Linked DNA regions of Homo sapiens: regions 1, 2, 3, 4, 5 and 6 are each linked to region 7. The links are contacts of gene promoters, found by promoter capture Hi-C in blood cells and fetal thymus (Javierre and others, 2016). All regions are on one chromosome and are shown on one strand. Each heading gives the region's core, a stretch centred on a gene start or on the middle of the fragment in contact. The rest is flanking DNA. Distances are from core to core; before and after follow the strand shown. Region 1 overlaps LARS1 (leucyl-tRNA synthetase 1). Region 2 holds the start of SH3RF2 (SH3 domain containing ring finger 2). Region 3 overlaps GRXCR2 (glutaredoxin and cysteine rich domain containing 2). Region 4 overlaps LINC01844 (long intergenic non-protein coding RNA 1844). Region 5 has its middle 5.1 kb from the start of PRELID2. Region 6 has its middle 5.3 kb from the start of PLAC8L1. Region 7 holds the start of YIPF5 (Yip1 domain family member 5).

Region 1 (2,700 bases), core at 56-2,555, 2.0 Mb before region 7:
CATAGGACACAGTTGATACTCAGTAACCATATTTTTAATGCATTGAATTTTTTTTTCTTCTTCCAGGAATGCGTTTGGCTCTGGCTGATGCTGGTGACACTGTAGAAGATGCCAACTTTGTGGAAGCCATGGCAGATGCAGGTATTCTCCGTCTGTACACCTGGGTAGAGTGGGTGAAAGAAATGGTTGCCAACTGGGACAGCCTAAGAAGTGGTCCTGCCAGCACTTTCAATGATAGAGTTTTTGCCAGGTAATCTGTAGATCCCAATCATTTTGTGTTTTAGAGTTACTTAGTCCTGGTGCATTTTTGTTTTCTTTTTCTTTTCTTTTCTTTTTTTTTTTTAATAAAATAAACTAATGATAATAATAGCTAGTGTTCATTGAAGGCTTACTTGTGCCGGGTACTATGCTAAGTATTTTGTGTCCATTATCTGACTTTAACCTCAAAGCAACCTTATTTAATACAGATATTATTAGCTCTATTTTATAAATAAAGAAACTGAAGCTTAGAACAATTAAGTATTTCCTTAAATGCCTTAAAGCTAGTAGTTGCAAACTTGGGATATGAACTTGCTTCTGTCTGTCTTGAAAGTCTGTTCTCATAACCATTTTACCATGTTGTCTTGTTTTCGAGTAGGGCAAAATGGTTAAAGGAAAAGTAGATTAAAAGAAAAGGATAAATATCTTTGGAGTCATCCTACGCACTGGTATTATAAAGATGAATGAGACCTGATCCTTATTGTCTAGCAAGAGAGACAAACACCCAGTTTCTAAGCACAATAATAGAGACAAGGAGAATTCAGAGATGTCATGTGACTTCTGGGTTTCTTTTTTTTTTTTCCTGAGACAGAGTCTCGCACTGTCACTCAGGCTGGAGTGCAATGGCACAATCTCAGCTCACTGCAGCCTCTGCCAGGTTCAAGCTATTCTTCTGCCCCAGCCTCCCTACTAGCTGGGATTACAGGTGCCTGCCACCACGTCTGGCCAATTTTTTGTATTTTTAGTAGAGATGGGGTTTCACTGTGTTGGCCAGGCTGGTCTCGAACTCATGACCTTGTGATCCACCTGCCTCAGTCTCCCAAAGTGCTGGGATTACAGGCGTGAGCCACCACGCCCGGCCAAATTCTGGGTTTCTTGAAAAATAAACAATGTTTTCAGGGAGAGGAGAAAGTGTGGATAAGCCATGGAAAGGGTCTGATATTTATTTGAAGTACATTATCTTGTGGGCAGAGGTAGGAAATGAAACAGGTTGGGGCCAGATTAGGCCAAATTAAGAAGAACCTGGATTGGTATGAGAAAATTTTTTTCTGATATCCAGTATTAGTTATTGTAAATGCAATAATTAAAACCTGGCTATGGCCAGGCACTGTGGCTCACGCCTGTAAACCAGGCACTTTGAAAGGCTGAGGTGGGAGGATTGCTTGAGCCCAGGAGTTTGAGACCAGCCAGGGCAACAAAGTGAGATCCTGTCTCTACAAAAAAAAAAAAAATTAGCTGGGTGTGGTGGCTTGCGCCTGTAGTCCTAGTACTTGGGAGGCTGAGGTGAGAAGATTCTTTGAGCCTAGGAGTTTGAGGCTGCAGTGAGTTGTGATCATACCACTGCATTCTAGCCTAGGTGACAGAGACCCTGTCTCAAAAAAAAAAAAAAAAAAAAAAAAAAACTTGGCTACAACCTTAGTTAGGCTATTTTCATGTTGCATTTTGGGCTTTATAAGAATAAAGTGTCCATCAGGAAATTTCTGAAGAAGCATCATTTATTGTCATAAACAGGAGCCCTAAGCAGTGTCAGATGACAGTACTTAAGGATGGATAGACAATAGAGAGATTGCAGTAATTTGTTTTAAGGAACGCAAAGATGGTGTTGTGTTGAGCAGTTTTAAATGTTCTGGGCATTGTTCTCATTTTACTGCTTAAATGAGCAGTATTTCAAATTTGTATATTAAAAAGCAGTATTTTAAATTTGTGTATGCAGCAGTTTTTTATAGCTATGTATAAGTGCCTTTAAACTCAATAACCTTTTTTTCCCCGTATTCAATAGTGAATTGAATGCAGGAATTATAAAAACAGATCAAAACTATGAAAAGATGATGTTTAAAGAAGCTTTGAAAACAGGGTTTTTTGAGTTTCAGGTAGGCTGTTGATTCTTTTGGTAGCTATAAAACATGTCAATGTGAACATTATGTATTTTCCCCCTTTTTTCTTCCTGCTATAGCACAATTACTCGCCTAAAGTGTAGACTGAAAATCCTGCCAGAAAAATTTTAAATTCTTCAATAAATTGTGATTTTAAGTTATTATCTTTGGTATTTTTTCTATTGTGTCCATTTAATTTAATAATTCTGCTCCTAGTTAAGCTATGAGCATTAATATAAAGGAGATTAAATCTAAAATTCAGCTATACTTTCCAGGAAAACATTTCAAAATTGATAAAAACAAAGGCAAAATTGTAATTAATTGCCATTAATTTGAGAGCAAGCGTTTTCTGAGGTTTTCCACAAGGTGTCAGTATTTCCTCAAGTTTGGCATTTAAAGTGCTTAAAGTAAAAATGTAGCTTTACGCAATGAGCTGTGTAAAATATCACATTGAGTTTTATATAACTTGGTTTTCAGAGTTGTGGTTAAATAAGGATAAATGGCTGGGCATAGCAATGTGTTGTATTTATAGTCTTTTTTTATATTTAATATCCTATATGCTGCTAAG
Region 2 (2,700 bases), core at 145-2,644, 1.8 Mb before region 7:
ACACAGGGCACTCCAGAAGATCAAGTAACGTCAAATCATCCATTTTATTTCAAAACTCCAGTTCCCACCTGGAGGAGCAGCGTCCACATGGTAGGGTCAGTTGAGCCACGGGGGCAGAGCTGGTCTCTTGAGAACGTCAGAATTTTTGCCTGCTTGAAGGAGGGAGAGGAGAGAAAAAAAAATGTGACTGCTCCGAGAGGTATATCCCACCTACATTGAGGCAGTGTCTCATAAGGCAGTTTGCAAGTACTTTGTTCCGGCACCCAAGTTTCAAATGACTCATTCTGATTCAATGCTAGCAGGTATAAGACTCAACTCGTGCTTGCTGTGAGGATCAGAGGGAACATTCAGCACAAGACTGACTGCTTATTGCCTATGTGGACAGGAAAGCAGGGAGATAAACTGGCCTGCTGAAGTGGCCCCCCAACCCCTCTCTACCAGCCAGGGCGGGAAGAGGTCCTTTACCCCCTGCCCGGGGAAAGCTCCTGGACAGTCTCAATTCTTACAACAAAGCCCCCTCCGAACGCAATTTCTGTGAAGCTATCTCCTCCTCCTCCTTCCCCTAAATCTAAATGTATCTATTATCTGCACCACATGCAGATTAGTTTAGGTGGGTAAGTTTATCTGAATCTCATGCAGATGTAGAATTATTTCCTTCACAATATACCTTCCCACATGATTCTAGCAATGTACAAGAAAAATTTCCACTAGAAACCCATTTCCAAAAATTGTTTTGCCTTAACCACAGGTCAGGGTGCTTGGAAGCTTTGTTTCTTTTCTTTTTTCATCTTTTTTTTTTTTTCTCTCCTCATCCCGATTACCTTAGGCTCAGAGACAATGTTCCTCCCACAAGGTAAAGTAGTGCAGCCTGTTTAGTTACTTTGACATTGTTCTCAATTTCAAATGAAGCAGATAGGAATTCTGGATTGTGGTCACGACCTGTAAAAACCGTACTGGGGCAGCATATACAGGTAGGGGTCGTGTGTGTGTGTACTCTGAAAACAGTACTTGTTCCAGAAACAAGTTTCCTTTTGGATGTATGAAAAGAAGCCTCCAGTTTAGAAAAGTCTGGAAGAAGTCAGCTGTCCCTCACAAGTGCCAGGGCTTCGGTAAGCACCGAGCCCAGAGGTTTGGCGAGAAGGCCAGTGGCCCCACTAGCGACTAGTAAGCAGGACAGACACGACCGAGAATGAGCGATGGCGCCTCGCCTTCCTAAGCCTCCTCTCCAAAGATGTCAGCGCGGCAGCGGGCTGGGGAGGCGTGTGGGGGCCACTAACCTTGTGCATGTAACTTCTGCTGAGTTCAGCTCAGCCCCCTCCTCCGCGCAGCAGGGGTGCGCTGCGCCCTCCAACCGGCTTCCTTTCCTCCAAGCGCCGCTGCTGCCAACCGCTTTGAAAACTTTAACCACTCAGTCTTACTCATTTCAAGGGATCGCCTTACCCAGCCCTGTTAACGCTTTCACTGCCAGGGCGCTGCCTACTTACCACGCTTTTGTTGTTGCAGTTGTTAACTTTATGATCTTTCCTTCAGTTTACTGAATTGCTTCTGGGAAAAGATTGTAAGAGGTAAAATATAAGCCAGTCCCTAAGGCCAAGTATTTACAAAGTTCATATTTTCACCTTTCCCGTTTTCTGTAGTATCCAAGGAGTCAGAACCTGCTCCATTATAAACATACCAAAGTGATTGTGTTTATTTTAAATCTTCATAAGGATTTCCTGGGAAGGTCAAAAGTAAAAATGGTCAAGCTATGAAAACAAGGATAAGTCGGACACCTAGAAAATATTGCTCTTTGAAAATCATAGTCAATCTCTGAATTTAGAGATAAGAGGGACTTTAGTGATCTTTTTGCTCAATCTGTTTAAATTAAAAAACTAGTGTCACGTATATACACATACGTGAAAAATCAAAGCACAGAGAAGCTTTTTCAAAAAAGGAAAAGCAGTGGCCTCCAAGCTCTCCTCCTGCCTGTTATCCACTGTAGTCTTTTCATATCCTCAGATTATGCCTATATTTCTATTTTTTGATTTATCGATAATACATTTCATGTAAAATTACAAAGGTATCCGATTAAGTGAATAATAACAATCTTAATGCCAGGGTAGTCCTTATCTGTGTCAACCACTGTTCTAAATACCTTACCTGTGTTAGCCCTTTAACCCCTTAACAACCCAAGGAGACACTAAACTATTCTTTACTTTCATCTTGCAGATGAGGGAACTTGAGACACAGAGAGGATAAATAACTCATCTCGGGAGTCACAGCTAGCAGAAGGCAAGTGGGCTGTGCTCTTAACAATGTCATGGAGTGATATAACTTTAAGAGGCTGGCCAGGCGCAGTGGCTCATGCCTGTAATCCCAACACTTTGGGAGGCCGACGTGGGCAGATCACAAGGTCAGGAGATCAAGACCATCCTGACCAACATGGTGAAACCTCATTTCTACTAAAAATACAAAAATTAGCTGGGCATGGTGGTGCGCACCTGAAGTCCCAGCTACTCAGGAGGCTGAGGCAGGAGAATCGCTTGAACCTGGGAGGCGGAGGCTGGAGTGAGCTGAGATCGTGCCACTGCACTCCAGCCAGGGCGACAAAAAAAAAAAAAAAAAAAAAGAGGTGAAGAGGTGGTTCAAGGGAGCTAAGCCTCCCCTAAGAGGGCAAGAGGTCAAAAGATAATGGACAAAACTGGCTACTCACTTTCTCTT
Region 3 (2,700 bases), core at 61-2,560, 1.7 Mb before region 7:
TCTACACTAATAACCTGAAAATCATTCGAACCCCAATGGACAAGAGAGATTTTGTGAGGAAAATTCTCCAGAAGGAAGAGGAGGCTGAGGAAGAGTCTCTGATGAACAAAGAAGAAAGCTATGGAGGCAGGGACCAGCACGATAGACCTTTGGTGGAGGCAGAAAGCACATTACCCCAAAACCGGTATACACAGGTGCGTTGGGGAGCTTGACTGTCCTGCTCGGAGCTGGCCCTACAGCAATGGTCTCCAAGCTGGCTTGATTGTGCACTGCTTAAGTAAAACCTTTTGAATATGAATACTTAAGATACCTAAACTTGAAGATATGAGGAATTTTAACATTTGTTATATTTTAATGGTACATTGTTAGCAATAGCAGTTATAAGTCCATATTTCAGATACTCTAAATTTTTAATTTTTTGGCTGACTTCTTTTTAGATCTGATTAAATATTTATTGTTTTCACTGTGCAGTGTGGTTTATGAACAGCTGGTTCTAGAGGTGGAAAAATATATCAGCCCTATATTTTCTTTTTTCTTTCTTTCTTTTTTTTTTTTTTTTTGAGAAGGAGTTTCACTCTTTTTGCCTGGGCAGGATCTCAATGGCGTGATCTTTGCTCACTGCAACCTCTGTCTCCTGGATAAGTGATTCTCCTGCCTCAGCCTCCTGAGTAGCTGGGATTTCAGGCACCCACCACCATGCCTAATTTTTTTTTATTTTTAATAGAGATGGGGTTTCACCATGTTGTCCAGGCTGGTCCCGAACTCCTGTCTTCAAGTGTTCCATCTGCCTCGGCCTCCCAAAGTGCTGGGATTACAAGCATGAGCCACCGTGCCTGGCCTGGCCCTATCTTTTCTTATGGGTTCACTTGTTCTTCTATTATTGGTGTTATCCTTGATCCATAGTCTCCTGGAAGACATCATGTAAAGTCATGATTCCATTTGGCAGATTAGTTTAGCTAAAACTAAGGAGTATCCTTTGTAAATCCACTAGACCAGGCACAAGTAAACTGCAACATGTTGCAATGTGCTGAAAGTGAACAAGTGAGCTGGACGCTACTGTCAGCAACATTTGAACATCACTCTTACTCCAGGGTCCCTTGGGTACCACACTTGTCTAGTGACTGCCTGACCTAATATGGCTGTCAGTGTCCACAAGTTTATTAAAAGTTAGTATAAAAATTCTTTTAAAAATGTTAATAAAGCTTAATATCTGCCTAATTGTAGATAAAAAGTAAATATGAATATTCCAATGTTTTCCTCTCATACCCCTTAGAAGTGTGCACGCACCACCTTGGAAACCATAGCTCAGACATGCTCAGACCAGGGGGAGGAGGGCTGATATTCGTTCATTCACAGTGTGAGGTTGGGGGTGGAGGAAGCAATTTTGATGCATTTAAGCCGAAAGATTAAAAGCTTGGGTAGCTGGATGAATGAATTTTCTCTCTCTTAGATTCCATCTCCTGGGACTTGATGTTTTCTGTGGGATTCACTGTAATCTCCTGGGATTGCTATGAAAAAATTGGTCAGGGGCTTTCTGGAACTTGAGTGATGTCTCTACTCTGGGAGGGTTCAGATGATGAGAACAAGAAGGTCATGACTGGGCTTTGAGTAATGGCCTTAGACAAGAGGCACCAAAGGCTCCTTCTTATCTCATTTCTCCCATATCATAAGTCTATCTACCTCTCCACAATTTCTCTAAAATCTACTTTTTTCTCTCTTCCTTTCTACCTCTCCTTCCCTTCCCCTAGAGCATAAGCAACTGGGACTCTAGCAAAAGGTTCTGAAAGTTCCACTCACATCCATTCAGGTACCTTTCCAACCTGCCCCCACACTCAAAAAGATATTTTTAAATGTAATCTGATTAGGTCACCCCCTTTGTCACTGTATTAGTCCGTTTTCACACTGCTCTAAAGATAGTACTTGAGACTGAGTAATACATAAACAAAGGAGGTTTAATTGACTCACAGTTCCAAATGGCTGGGGAGGCCTCAGGAAACTTACAATCTTGGTGGAAGGTGAAGGGGAAGCAAGGCACATCTTACATGGCAGCAGGGGAGAGAAAGAGAGAGAGAGAGCTTGAGAAAGTGCCATGCTTTAAAACCACCAGCTCTGGTGAGAACTCACTTATCACGAGAACAGCATGAGGGAAACTGCCCCCATGATCCAATCACCTTCCACCAGGTTCCCCCCTTGACACATGGAGATTACAATTCAAGATGAGATTTGGGTAGGGACACAGAGCCAAACCATATCAGTCACCCCCTCTAAGCTTTCAGTGTCTTTTCATTGCTTGGGATAAAACCGCAAACTCCTTACTTGTCCCAGAAAGCTCTGTGTAGCCTGGCCTCTGCTGGCCCCTCCAGCATCATCTCTTACACATCTTTTCTCATGCTCTTGGCCCCAGACACACTGCCCATCTCCCCATCTCCATCCCTCATATATTATTTTCTCTTTCCTACCAGAGGCCAATCCCCTCTGCCTGGAATGTCCCCAGACTCCCACCACCCTGCCTTCAGCTTCTGAGATCTCAGAGGAGGCATCACTTCCTCAGAGGGATCTTCCCTGGCTTCCATGAGGAAAAAAATCCTCTAGGATTGACCTGTCAGGGCACCTTACACCCCTCATCAGAGTTGCAATCTTACTTTAGTTTGTGTGATTATTTGGTTGGTGTTTGCTCTTACCAATTAGGTCTCCATGAGG
Region 4 (2,700 bases), core at 153-2,652, 1.4 Mb after region 7:
TCCCAGCCTTGCTCCTTGCTCAATGCTTAATATGCTCAATGCTTAGTATGCTCAACGGTAGATGCTTTCTAGGAAACAGCCTAACCTGCCTGATCCACTTGGTGCAGGCTTGTCACAAATAGGGAAAGACCTCTCCCTGTCCTCACATTCCCTCAAACCTCAAACCATGAAATCAGCTAACACAAATTGGACCTCAAAAAATGTTGTCAACAAACCCAAACCTTTCCCCTAAAATTACTAAATTCATCCATTTTGCATTGCTATAAAGGAATACCCAAGACTGGGTACTTTATAAAGAAAAGTATATTTGGCTCATGGTTCTGCAGGCTGTACAAAAAGCATGGCACCAGCATTTGTTTCTGGTCAGGACTTTAGGAAGCTTTTACTCATGGAGGAAGGTGAAAGGAGAGAAGATGAGTCATATGGTGAGAGAGGAAGCAGGCGAGATGGAGGAGAGGCGCCAGGCTTTTTAAACAACCAGCTCTCGCATGAACTAATAGAGTAAGAACTCACTCATTATGGCAAGGAGGGCACCAAGCCATTCATGAGAGATTTGCCTCTGTGACCCAAACACTTCCCACTAGGCCCTACTTCCAACATTGGGGGATCACATTTCAACATGAGATTTGGTGGGGACAAATATTCAAACTGTATCATACCTTATCCCATTTTTATTTCTGCAATGTTCTTTTCCTATATCAGATCCTATGGAAATTTGATGATGTAGTGGGCCTCCAAGTTGGTTGTAAGCAGAATCACACAAGAAGCTTATTAAAAATACAGATGCCCCAGCCCTATGCCAAACCTAGCTTCTCTATTTTTAGCAAGCTCCACAGGTAATTCTGATGCACTGCCAAGTCTCTGAACCACTGCTTTAGCCAACTGGATGGAATAAGGGAAATTCCCATTTGGCTGGTAGGAGTCAGAACATTTCCTTTCTGCCACTACCTGTGGCTCCTGGGCAAACTACTTTAATTCAGTTCCTCAGTTGTCCCTTTAAGTAAAGTGATGATTCCTCCATGATATCTCTGCCCTAGAAGCTTGCGTAGTATGAAAGTATTGATATCTTCCCATGATCTAGTCCCACTTTGGGTGGCCAAGCCTCAGTTTCCTCAAGGAACTACCTGCCCCTCACTGACTGGAGGAAGGCTTTGTAGGACTGTCAATCAAGGTGCTCTGCTGCCCTCTGGCTGCCCCCTGGGCCCAAGACCCAAGTTTGGCCAACCAGATTTTCTCTCCCAGGAAATTAAATACTGAGAGAGCTGAAGCAGAGACAAAATAAATGAAGTTGATTCATCTGGTACGGGTGACCCCAAAAATCTGTTAGTTTCTGCTTCCTAAGCTGTTGCCCTGGTTCTTGTGCTCTCAGAAACCTGGTTTTTCAGCCTTTCCCTCAGATCTGTAAGCAACCCTGATAGCCTTGGAATAAATTGTTTCTTTTGCCTAAGTGAGCCAGAGTTAGTTCTGTTGCTTGCCACCAAAGAATTCTAACTGATTCTCACAATCAAGATCTTTGATAGAGTGTTGTATATAATAATGATGTCATAGCTTCCATTCTTATAAAGCCATTGTGAATGATTCTCTTGTAGCTAAAGTGACCGTTCTATAGAAGGTCAAAAGTTTGTTTTAATAATGACATCTTTGTTCCAGTAATTCCAGACAGTGAAAATTTCTCAATAGTGTAAGAGGTTATTCACTGTCCTGCTGAAATATCTTAAGTGGAAACAGGCCTTGGGTAAATACTCTTCCTCTAAACAAAGCTTATTGTTCTGGACCCAGGGAAGGAAAGGACAAGAGAAAAAAGAAAAAGGAAAAAAGTTTGGGCTCAGTTTAAACCAGCTCCCATTCAGCTATATCTGCCCTTTACATACAAATTTAATAAAAAGTTGACTCTTTATGTATTTTTTTAAAGGCTGGAAATTGCATCCGAATACACATTTTAAGGGGTGACTTGCAGAGAAAATAGCTTCAGTGATTGAACCCTTTTCTCTCATCAGCCTATATTTTATTTCTACCCCCATCTCATTGTTACAGTTTTTACTCTTTCTTATTGTTACTGACATCCTCACTATTTCTCACCTTTATTGGCTGTGTTAACAGTTATGAGCACTTGCTGTGAACCAGGCACGATGATAGATGTTTGACACGTATTACCTCATTTAATCCTTACAGTGCCCTTCAAAGCCAGTATTATTATTCCCATTTTACAGAGGGGAAACTTGAAGCTCAGTGAGGTTAAGTAATAGGGCTAATGTGCAACATGACCAATCACTTACCTGTGTGTCCCTATCTGTCCCCAAGTCTTCCTTACACTGTGACCCATTGCCTTAAATTGAAAGTACCTGCTTAGTCCAAGGCATCACTGGAAAGAATATTAAATGTGGCATTGTAGCTCAAAAAAAAAAAGACAACTGAACTCATTGCCCATGTCATGTTCTATATTCCTGACTAGACTATAAGCTCCTTAAGGGCAAACACTATGTTCTGTCTACCACAATATTACCAGCACATGCCTAGCACAGAGGAGGTTCTCAAAAAATGCTTATAGAATCAGTGAATATCCTATAGGGTCCTCAGAATAAGGGACCATCACAAGGTTAGGAGAAAATGTCAAGAAATCCCTTTCTGGGAAACAGAAATTCCAGGTTACCCCTAGTGAATTCAACCAACTTTGAAGTTTGGCCAAGCCTTTAAATAGCA
Region 5 (2,700 bases), core at 148-2,647, 1.7 Mb before region 7:
GTCACATCCTGAGGTACAGGGTGTTAGCACTTCAACATATAAATTTTAGGGACACAATTTTGTGTATAACAGTTGAGGTCATTAGGGTGGCTCTTAATCTAAAGTTCTTATAAAAATTTGGACACAAAAACAGACAAGTGTAGAGAGAAGACAATGTGAAGTCACAAGAAGACCATCCACAAGCTAAGAAATGCCTGGGGCTATTAGAAGCTAGGGGAGAGGCATGGGACAGATTCTCCCTCTGAACCCTCAGAAGGAATCCATCTTGCCAACAACACCTTGATTTATGACTTCTGGAATCCAAAGCTGTGAGACAATAAATTTATGTTTTTCAAGCCATCCATTTGTGGCACTTTGAAAATGAACACATCTGGCTTTATTTCCCTCTACAGTCAGACAGGCTTTCTCTAGATGGTGGCCAGACTGGGCCTTGGCTCTTCTTCTTCCCACTTCTGATCTTTCAGCACACCTTTCCAGCTCTACCTTCACAAGGGATCCAGAACCTAAAAACTGATCACCACTGATACCACTGTGGTCTCAGCCATCATTTCCTCTTATCTAGATTATGGCAATCACCTCTTGAGGGGAGAACAAGCTCAAATCATGTTTTTTTCCTGTGCTCTCACATTACAAAAATCATCAACACAGAAGACGTTCTATTTTTTGTAGAGACCAGGTTTCACCATGTTGCCTAGGTCAGTATGAAACTCCTGAGTTCCTCTGCCCTCCTTCAGTAATGGCAATTGTGGTGAGAGTCAAATAAACTAATACATAATATTATTAATAATGTTATCTGCAGTACCATCACAACTGCAATTTTTGGCCCTCATGTATGATGAAATATCTTTGTAAGATATTTGCTATCTTAAAGACCAAATAAGGTCATGAAATTCTAAGGTTTGCCAGCACACATACAAATGTGTGTGTGGTTTCTCCCCACACAGCAAGCAAGCACTCAGGTCTGCAGTGGACACCAGCCAGGTGTCCTCCAATTCAATTCTGACACTACCTGGAGATAATTCAGAACCCACAAGTTGAGGACTCAGTCCCACAAGATCACTCCGCTGTCCCCACCGTCCCCCATTCAGATGTTAGTTGCAAGTCTTGGCCTCCAGAACTTCTGACTGACCCACTTCAAGATGGGCTTCCCATGATCCTCTCTTTGGATTCAGTTAATTTACTAGAGCAGCTCATAGAACTCAGGGAAACACTTACTTCCATTTACCAGTTTATTATAAAGGATAGTACAAAGGATGTAGCTGAAGAGATGCATAGGGCAAGGTATAGGGGAAGAGGCATGGAGCTTCCATGCCCTCCCTGGATGCACCATCCTCCAGGAATCTCCATATGTTTGGCTAGCTGGGAGCTCTCTGAACCCTGTTCTTTTGGGTCTCTTAGCAAGACTCCATTGGATAGACATGATTGAAGATAACCAGGTAGAAATACGATTAGGCAAAAAAGGATATGATATAATACTAACAGACTGAGTCAGGAAACCTAGTAAGGCCCGCCTGTCTAGATTCTTCTTGGCCTTCCTGTGCAGCATTTCTTCCTGCAGGGTATGGGGTGGGACACTCTCTGGAATGAGAAATCAATCAGAAAAGCCAGGAAAGATTAGAGTCCTGCCTTGGGCAGGTGAAGGGAAGTCAGAAGAAGGTCGGAGAGAGAAAAGCCTGCTTCTGAGGCCTAAAGTGTCCCAATACTATAGCAAAAGACTGTAGCAAGGGCTATGGGAGTTATCAGCCAGGAACCATGAATCTATATTTATACGTGGAGGAGTGGAGTTTAGTGAGGAGTGGGAGTTGGGGAGGAAATTTTACATATATATATGTAAAATATCATACCTCTTAATTGGTCTCTTTCTTTGCTTTGCCTCCCCATAGTCACTTCTCCAAACTGTAAGTAGCCAGAATGATTCTGTTAAAATATACAGTTGAGATCATGTCTCTCCTCTGCTCAAAACTCTCAATGGCCTCCCATCTCATACAGATAAAGCCAACATCTTTACCATGGCCTGGAGGACCCTATGTGACCTAGATTCATGTTTTCTGACCTTATATCTCAGGAACTCTGCAACAGCCATACTGGCCTCCTTGTAGCTCTGAAATGTATCAGGAGAATGCCTGTTTCAGGTCTTGGAACCTGCCATTCCTTCTACGTGGAATGATCCTCCTCCAAATACGAGCATGACTTGCCCTCCTCTTCTTGCAACTTTTCTACTTTAATGTCATTTTCTCAGAGAGGTCTTCCTTAGCTCTTTTAAAAAATTTTAACACTGCTCCTCTCTCCCCTGCCCTGCCATCACTTCTCATCCTTCTTCTCCAGTTTTTGTCTCCTTAGTACCCACGCTTACTTATCATACATGATATTTTACATATTTGAATCTATTCTGATACTTTGCTTTGTTTTCCTTGCAAATTCTCATTCTGTACCCTGGTTTCAATAACTATATCCCTGTTCCCTGCCTTGGCTTGTGTCTCTAGCTCACATCTCAAATGTCAGGTTGCTGGATTTTAGAGACAGTCTTGGCCCACTCAGTTTCTGCCCCTGCATTTCAGTTTTTGTTGACGGAAAAACTGAGCTGCAGGGGCAGGAAGGATTTTGTTCAAGGTCATATTTTATATTAAGTACATTCGTGAGTTTATTCAACATATACTAGGTGCCAAGCATTTTACTAGGCACTGGATAGAGAGGAGTGAA
Region 6 (2,700 bases), core at 71-2,570, 1.9 Mb before region 7:
TAATATTGTGATTGTGTTCATCTTATGAACCTGTACTGTTTTGGATTAGGTGTGAGTTGAGATTCATGGATCCTTTGTTTTTTCAGTCTTGATTTCTGTGTGTCTCTCTTAGAATAAGCTTCTTGCTGTGCTGAATATGCTTCTTATGTGTAGAGATACAAATGTTTTGTATAAGGAGTCGTCTGAGCATAAGCCCATTACTTCATCTGGTACTCAACAGAAGAACCAGCAGTTAGTTGAAATGCTGAAGGAAAAACAGGCTACACTGGGCTTATTCTATTATTAACAATAATATAATTGGGTGCATAATAATAATGTTATATATAACTTATGTTAGTGCCTTCCTAGAGGATTTTAACTCTTTTTAAGTTTTGAAATACAATGCACATACACAAAAAGTGAGCAAAAAATATACACACACAAAAAATGAACTTCCTTTCTCTCCCCACCTCCAAAAAAAGAATTTATTAATAAAGCAAACACCTGCACAGTCACCAAACAGTTGAAGAATGGCACAGTGCCAGCACCACAGAGGTCTGCCTTTTGCCTTCTCTGGTCGCTAGAGATAAGCTTTCTGGCCCAGTATATGTCAGTTTTTATAAATGTTGCATTTGAGCTTGAAAAAAATATATATTCTGTAAATGCAAAAGTACTGTATGTGTCCATTAGGTCAGAGTTGTGGATTGAATTGTTCAAACCTATATCCTTACTGTTTTCTCTCTTTCTGTTTTTGAGAGGTATACCAAAATCTCTCATGACAATGAAATTTACCTGTATCTTGTTATAATTCTGACAGTTTTTGTTTTATATATTTTGAGGCTGTTTTGTTAGGTACATATAAATTCAGATTATATTCCTTCTGGTAAGTTGAACTTTTTCTAGTTAGAAAGTGTTTCTTTTTTGCCCAGGCTGGAGTGCAGTGGCACGATCTCGGCTCGTTGCAACCTCTGCCTCCCAGGTTCAAGCGATTCTCCTGCCTCAGCCTCCCGAGTAGCTGGGATTACAGGCACTTGCTACCACGCCCGGCTAATTTTTGTATTTTTTTTCTTTTTCTTTATTATTATTATTATTATTATTATACTTTAAGTTTTAGGGTACATGTGCACAATGTGCAGGTTAGTATACATGTGCCATGCTGGTGTGCTGCACCCACTAACTTGTCATTTAGCATTAGGTATATCTCCTAATGCTATCCCTCCCCCGTCCCCCCACAATTTTTGTATTTTTAGTAGAGACAGGGTTTCACCATTTTGGCCAGGCTGGTCTCGAACTCCTGACCTCGTGATCCACCTGCCTTGGCCTCCCAAGGTGCTGGGATTATAGGCGTGAGCCACTGCACCCGGCCATTTCTCTTTATTTTTAATTAATTTATTTTTTGCCTAGAGACCACTTTGCCTAACAATATAGTAACACCAGTTATCTTTTGGTTAACGTCCATGCAGACTATCTTTTCCATTCATTTACTTTTAACCTTCAGTAGTTTTATTTTCTTTTAACACTTCATTTCGAGAAATTTTAAGCCTACAGAAAAGTGGAAAGAATTGGCCAGTAAACATCCATGCGCTTGTCACCTAGATTTGCCAATTGTTAATATTGTGTCACGTTTACTTTATCTCTCTAAGTATCTATTTTTAAAATAAACTTTTAATTTTGGAATAGTTTTGGACTTACATAAAAGTTGCATCTTTAATATGGAGAGATCCTGTACATCTTTTACACAGTTTCTCCTGTTAACATCTTACTTAACCTTGGTTTAGTTGTTAAAACTAAGTAATTAACATGAGTACATTATGATTAACTAAATTGTATACTTTGTTTGGATTTCACCAATTTTTCTATTAATTTTTTTTACTATTATGGGATCCTATCCAGGATAACACATTGTATTTAGAAAATATTTTTTAAAAATTCAGAACCATTTGACAGTAAGTTACAGACACCATGACACTTCATCTTCCCATAGGTTATCACGCAACTCCTAAGAACTTGGACATTCTCCTATATAATCACAGTGTTGTTATTATGCCCAAGAAATTTAACATGATACAATAATATTAGGTAATAAGCTTTTCTAGTAAAACTTCCCCAATGTCTCATCAATAATGTGTTCTTTGAAAAACTCTCAGGATTCAAAGATCAAGTATTACATTTTGTGGTTAGGTCTGTTAATCTCCTTTAAACTAGGGTAGTTTCTCTGTTCTTTTTTTGATCTTTCATGACAGTAACATCTTTGAAGACATCAAGCTGGTCGTTAGCATGATGCTTACAATCTGGATTTCTGTATTTTCTCATGGTTGTAATCAGATTTAAAATTCTTGGCAAGATTACTACATAGGTGATGTTTCCCACTGGATCATGTCAGGATTAATGTATTGTGGATTTGATTAGCATCATATTTCTCGGTTGAAAAGCTACTCTTCCTTTTTGTAATTAAGTAGTCTGTGAGCTGATACTTTGAGGCTTATATGAATATCCTGCTGTTATGATCTGAGTGTTCATGTCCCCCCAGAATTTATATGTTGAAACTTAATCTTCACGGTGTTGGTATTAAGAGGTGGGGCCTGTAGGAGGTGATTAGGTCATGAGGGTGGCTTCCTCATGAATGGGATTAGTGCTCTTACAAAAGAGGCTTGAGGGAGTCCTGTTGCCTTTATGCCATGTGTGGACACACAAGGCACCAGCTATAAGGAATGGGCCCTC
Region 7 (2,700 bases), core at 105-2,604:
CAGAATATAATGCAGTGGCTCATGATAAATTTTATTGCTATAAACCCTGAAGAAAGTTCTGCTCATTAGTTAATAGCATCTTATTTCGAGTCACAATATTCGGGATTCCACCATCTTGGGAAAGTGATTTAACACAGGAGCCAAAGCAATCATTTTCAAAAGAAAACAATTTAAACATCACTCATCAGTTCACAATCTTCACTTCTTTTAGAACCAACACACAAATCCCACAGGATATTTCCTGGCCCCTTCCTGTTATTCCAGCCTCAACTCCTATGTGGCTCCCCTCACTTGCTGTTCCAGTCACTCAGGTTCCACTTAGAAGAGTGGTTGACAAATTCAGCTAATGTTGCCCCCACCGCCCCCAAGGACATTTGGATTTGGCAATGTCTGGAGAGATTTTTAGCTGTCACAACTTGGTGGTGATGGTGGTGGTGGTTGGTTGGGGGGAGTACTGGCATCTAATGGCTAGAGATTAGGGATGCTACTGCTAAGCATCATGCACAGGGCAGCCCCCAATAAAGAAACATCCTGACTCAAAATGTTAATAATGCTGAAGTTCAGAGCTCGATTTTCATCTTTCCTCAGACCATGCTTCCCAGATCTTGCACACATTGTTCTCTTTGCCTAAAATATTCAGGCTATTTTCCCTTATCCTCCTTTCCCGTTGCCCTTTCTTCTCTTTTCTGGTCTTCTCTAACTCCCACTCACCCTTTGATAACCCTCTTATAGTGGCTTTACAGACTCTTCTTCCCAGATGAATGTTACTCTTTCAAAGAATTATGGAACACTAAAGAATATTAGTAGCAATTTCACATGCATTTGTATGTGTTCGATTACCCCTCTCCACCACCAACTCCAGGTGGGTAGATGTCACCTAGCTTATATTTACCACAGTATCCCCAGCAGCTAGCACAGAATGAATGAATACTTAATAGCTTCACTTACAAAAGGGAAATAGGGTAACCATCTCATTAGGTTGTAAAGATTAAATAATACATACAAACACTTTAGCACAGTGCTTGAATCACAGTAAATGCTGACACCGAGGCATTGTAGGCATTGTAGTTTGTGGACAGGAGAGGGGACTCCGTCTGTCTCATTTTAGCGCCTCCCAGTCTTCCTCCATCACCTAGGTCTGAGAAACTCCTCCTCCTACCTACGAGTAAGCAGCAATTGCTACGCCTGCGCTTTCCTGGTTCCACCCCTAACCAGGCTGCCGGAAGCACTTTCCTCTTTGGCACGGGCCAGCCGCAGGTTGGGTAGATACTGCGCAAGCTCCATACTCGTGTCTCCTCCTCCCGCCCACCGGTGCCCAACCTGCTAACACGCCTGCGCGAGCGGGCGTGCCCCGGAAGCCGTTCTTTGGCCCTGTGACACGTAGCAACGGGGCTGGTTCAGGGTCTGAAACAGAGTTTGGGGGTTGTTTGGGATTAGTGAAGCTACTGCCTTTGCCGCCAGCGCAGCCTCAGAGTTTGGTGAGTGACCCAGGCCCGTGGCACAGTGTTCAGCTTCTCTCCACACCCGTGCAAATGGGCTTGTTGCCGTCTTTCGGCGCCGCGCCCTGGTCCTTTCGCTCAGACCCTCGCTCTCATTCAAGCCCTTGCCCTGACGCGGTCCCCTGCACCTCAGGCGCGACCTTCCAGATTCTGCACTTTTTCCTGGCAGGCCGCAGGCCTTATTTTGCAAGGAAGCAGTCGCCTTGTCAGCTGTAAAGCCCAGTCCTAAGGTGAAAAATCATCTTTGTTGTTATTGATATTTTAGACCGCTTATGGAACCACAACTCCCACGACCTCGCCCCTAATGGAAGGCATATCAGCTCTTTAAGGTGGAGTTGTCTTACTGGGCCGCAACTTAAAAGAATATACATTTTCTTACTCTCTCTCCGCTACCGTCGTTCAAATGCTGCGTACTTTCCGCCCCCATCCCCTCTCCGAATTACTGAAAAAATATTTGTTGTGTTTCTATTTGCTTAAGCAGACTGCCAGGAACGAATTCAGTAGAACCTTGGGCATAAGGAATATTTGCCATTTCTCTTTTATTACAGATTATTTGCAATGTCAGGCTTTGAAAACTTAAACACGGATTTCTACCAGACAAGTTACAGCATCGATGATCAGTCACAGCAGTCCTATGATTATGGAGGAAGTGGAGGACCCTATAGCAAGTAACTTTTCATCTTTGGCAATTAATTTAGTCTACATTGCAGTGAAAACACATATTTAGAATATTTGGTTCTGCCTAAAACAATATGTGAACATGTCCTTTATCAGGAGTATGATCTTTCATGCATAATCTTCTTCCTCTAGAGAGATATGTGACACTGGCTTGGCTTCGAAGGTATTGTTCTATTTAAGAGTTGAGTGTCTTCTGCAAACTCTTCAGGTGTACCATGAATGGAAAAGTAGCTTGTTTGAAGAACTGTTTTCTAGTAACAGTATTTCTGTATTTAGAAGATGATGGGAGCTTCAGGTACCTAGGAGATAGGCTGTTAGTTCATAGGACCAGTGAAAAATTAAAGTATTTTGTTAGTAGTTAAATCAGTCCAACTCTGAGACTTTTATCAGTGCTAATTGAAAGTGCTTAGTGACATTATTTAATGATGTAAGCTCCTTATTACGAATCATCAGGCGATTTTCATACAGCAGTTGATAATCATTTTTATTACTCCTCCTTCTCAAACCCTTATGGTCAGTGCCA

The links. Contacts are between HindIII fragments. The CHiCAGO score rates a contact against its expected background, and 5 or more counts as called.
Region 1: a fragment that was not itself captured here is called in contact with the fragment with the promoter of YIPF5 in region 7 in 6 of 17 cell types (M2 macrophages, M0 macrophages, neutrophils and 3 more); the score reaches 13.3 in M2 macrophages.
Region 2: a contact is called between the fragment with the promoter of SH3RF2 here and the fragment with the promoter of YIPF5 in region 7, in 2 of 17 cell types (M0 macrophages and M2 macrophages). The highest score is 10.7, in M0 macrophages.
Region 3: a contact is called between a fragment that was not itself captured here and the fragment with the promoter of YIPF5 in region 7, in 2 of 17 cell types (M1 macrophages and M2 macrophages). The highest score is 7.1, in M1 macrophages.
Region 4: a contact is called between a fragment that was not itself captured here and the fragment with the promoter of YIPF5 in region 7, in 4 of 17 cell types (total B cells, naive B cells, fetal thymus and 1 more). The highest score is 6.0, in total B cells.
Region 5: a contact is called between a fragment that was not itself captured here and the fragment with the promoter of YIPF5 in region 7, in 4 of 17 cell types (monocytes, M1 macrophages, naive B cells and 1 more). The highest score is 8.6, in monocytes.
Region 6: a fragment that was not itself captured here is called in contact with the fragment with the promoter of YIPF5 in region 7 in 1 of 17 cell types (M2 macrophages); the score reaches 6.2 in M2 macrophages.

Annotation. Positions count from the first base shown.
Region 1 is chr5:146,130,448-146,133,147 of GRCh38, reverse strand. It overlaps LARS1 (leucyl-tRNA synthetase 1), which reads left to right. Exons shown (of 32, transcript NM_020117.11): 23 at 67-250; 24 at 2,039-2,129. Among named protein-coding and RNA genes, the nearest start is that of PLAC8L1, 26 kb to the right of the region's middle. The HindIII fragment of the contact is 1,595 bases long and covers 508-2,102 here.
Region 2 is chr5:145,935,272-145,937,971 of GRCh38, reverse strand. SH3RF2 (SH3 domain containing ring finger 2) reads right to left here and starts at 1,394. Exons shown (of 10, transcript NM_152550.4): 1 at 1,278-1,394; 2 at 1-149. The coding sequence starts at 43. It overlaps LOC107986458 (a long non-coding RNA gene), which reads left to right. Exons shown (of 4, transcript XR_001742913.2): 4 at 2,209-2,271. RefSeq lists an enhancer at 1,079-1,656. The HindIII fragment of the contact is 1,154 bases long and covers 768-1,921 here.
Region 3 is chr5:145,863,995-145,866,694 of GRCh38, reverse strand. It overlaps GRXCR2 (glutaredoxin and cysteine rich domain containing 2), which reads left to right. Exons shown (of 3, transcript NM_001080516.2): 2 at 1-194. Among named protein-coding and RNA genes, the nearest start is that of GRXCR2, 7.7 kb to the left of the region's middle. The HindIII fragment of the contact is 211 bases long and covers 1,205-1,415 here.
Region 4 is chr5:142,747,253-142,749,952 of GRCh38, reverse strand. All of the region lies in intron 1 of LINC01844 (long intergenic non-protein coding RNA 1844), which reads right to left. Among named protein-coding and RNA genes, the nearest start is that of LINC01844, 3.0 kb to the right of the region's middle. The HindIII fragment of the contact is 720 bases long and covers 1,043-1,762 here.
Region 5 is chr5:145,839,084-145,841,783 of GRCh38, reverse strand. No RefSeq gene overlaps it. Among named protein-coding and RNA genes, the nearest start is that of PRELID2, 5.1 kb to the right of the region's middle. The HindIII fragment of the contact is 9,611 bases long and covers 1-2,700 here.
Region 6 is chr5:146,109,480-146,112,179 of GRCh38, reverse strand. No RefSeq gene overlaps it. Among named protein-coding and RNA genes, the nearest start is that of PLAC8L1, 5.3 kb to the right of the region's middle. The HindIII fragment of the contact is 1,496 bases long and covers 573-2,068 here.
Region 7 is chr5:144,169,313-144,172,012 of GRCh38, reverse strand. It overlaps YIPF5 (Yip1 domain family member 5), which reads left to right and starts at 1,354. Exons shown (of 6, transcript NM_030799.9): 1 at 1,354-1,478; 2 at 2,048-2,167. The coding sequence starts at 2,058. It overlaps KCTD16 (potassium channel tetramerization domain containing 16), which reads right to left and starts at 1,140. Exons shown (of 4, transcript NM_020768.4): 1 at 1,004-1,140. RefSeq lists an enhancer at 1,213-1,492. The HindIII fragment of the contact is 8,610 bases long and covers 1-2,700 here.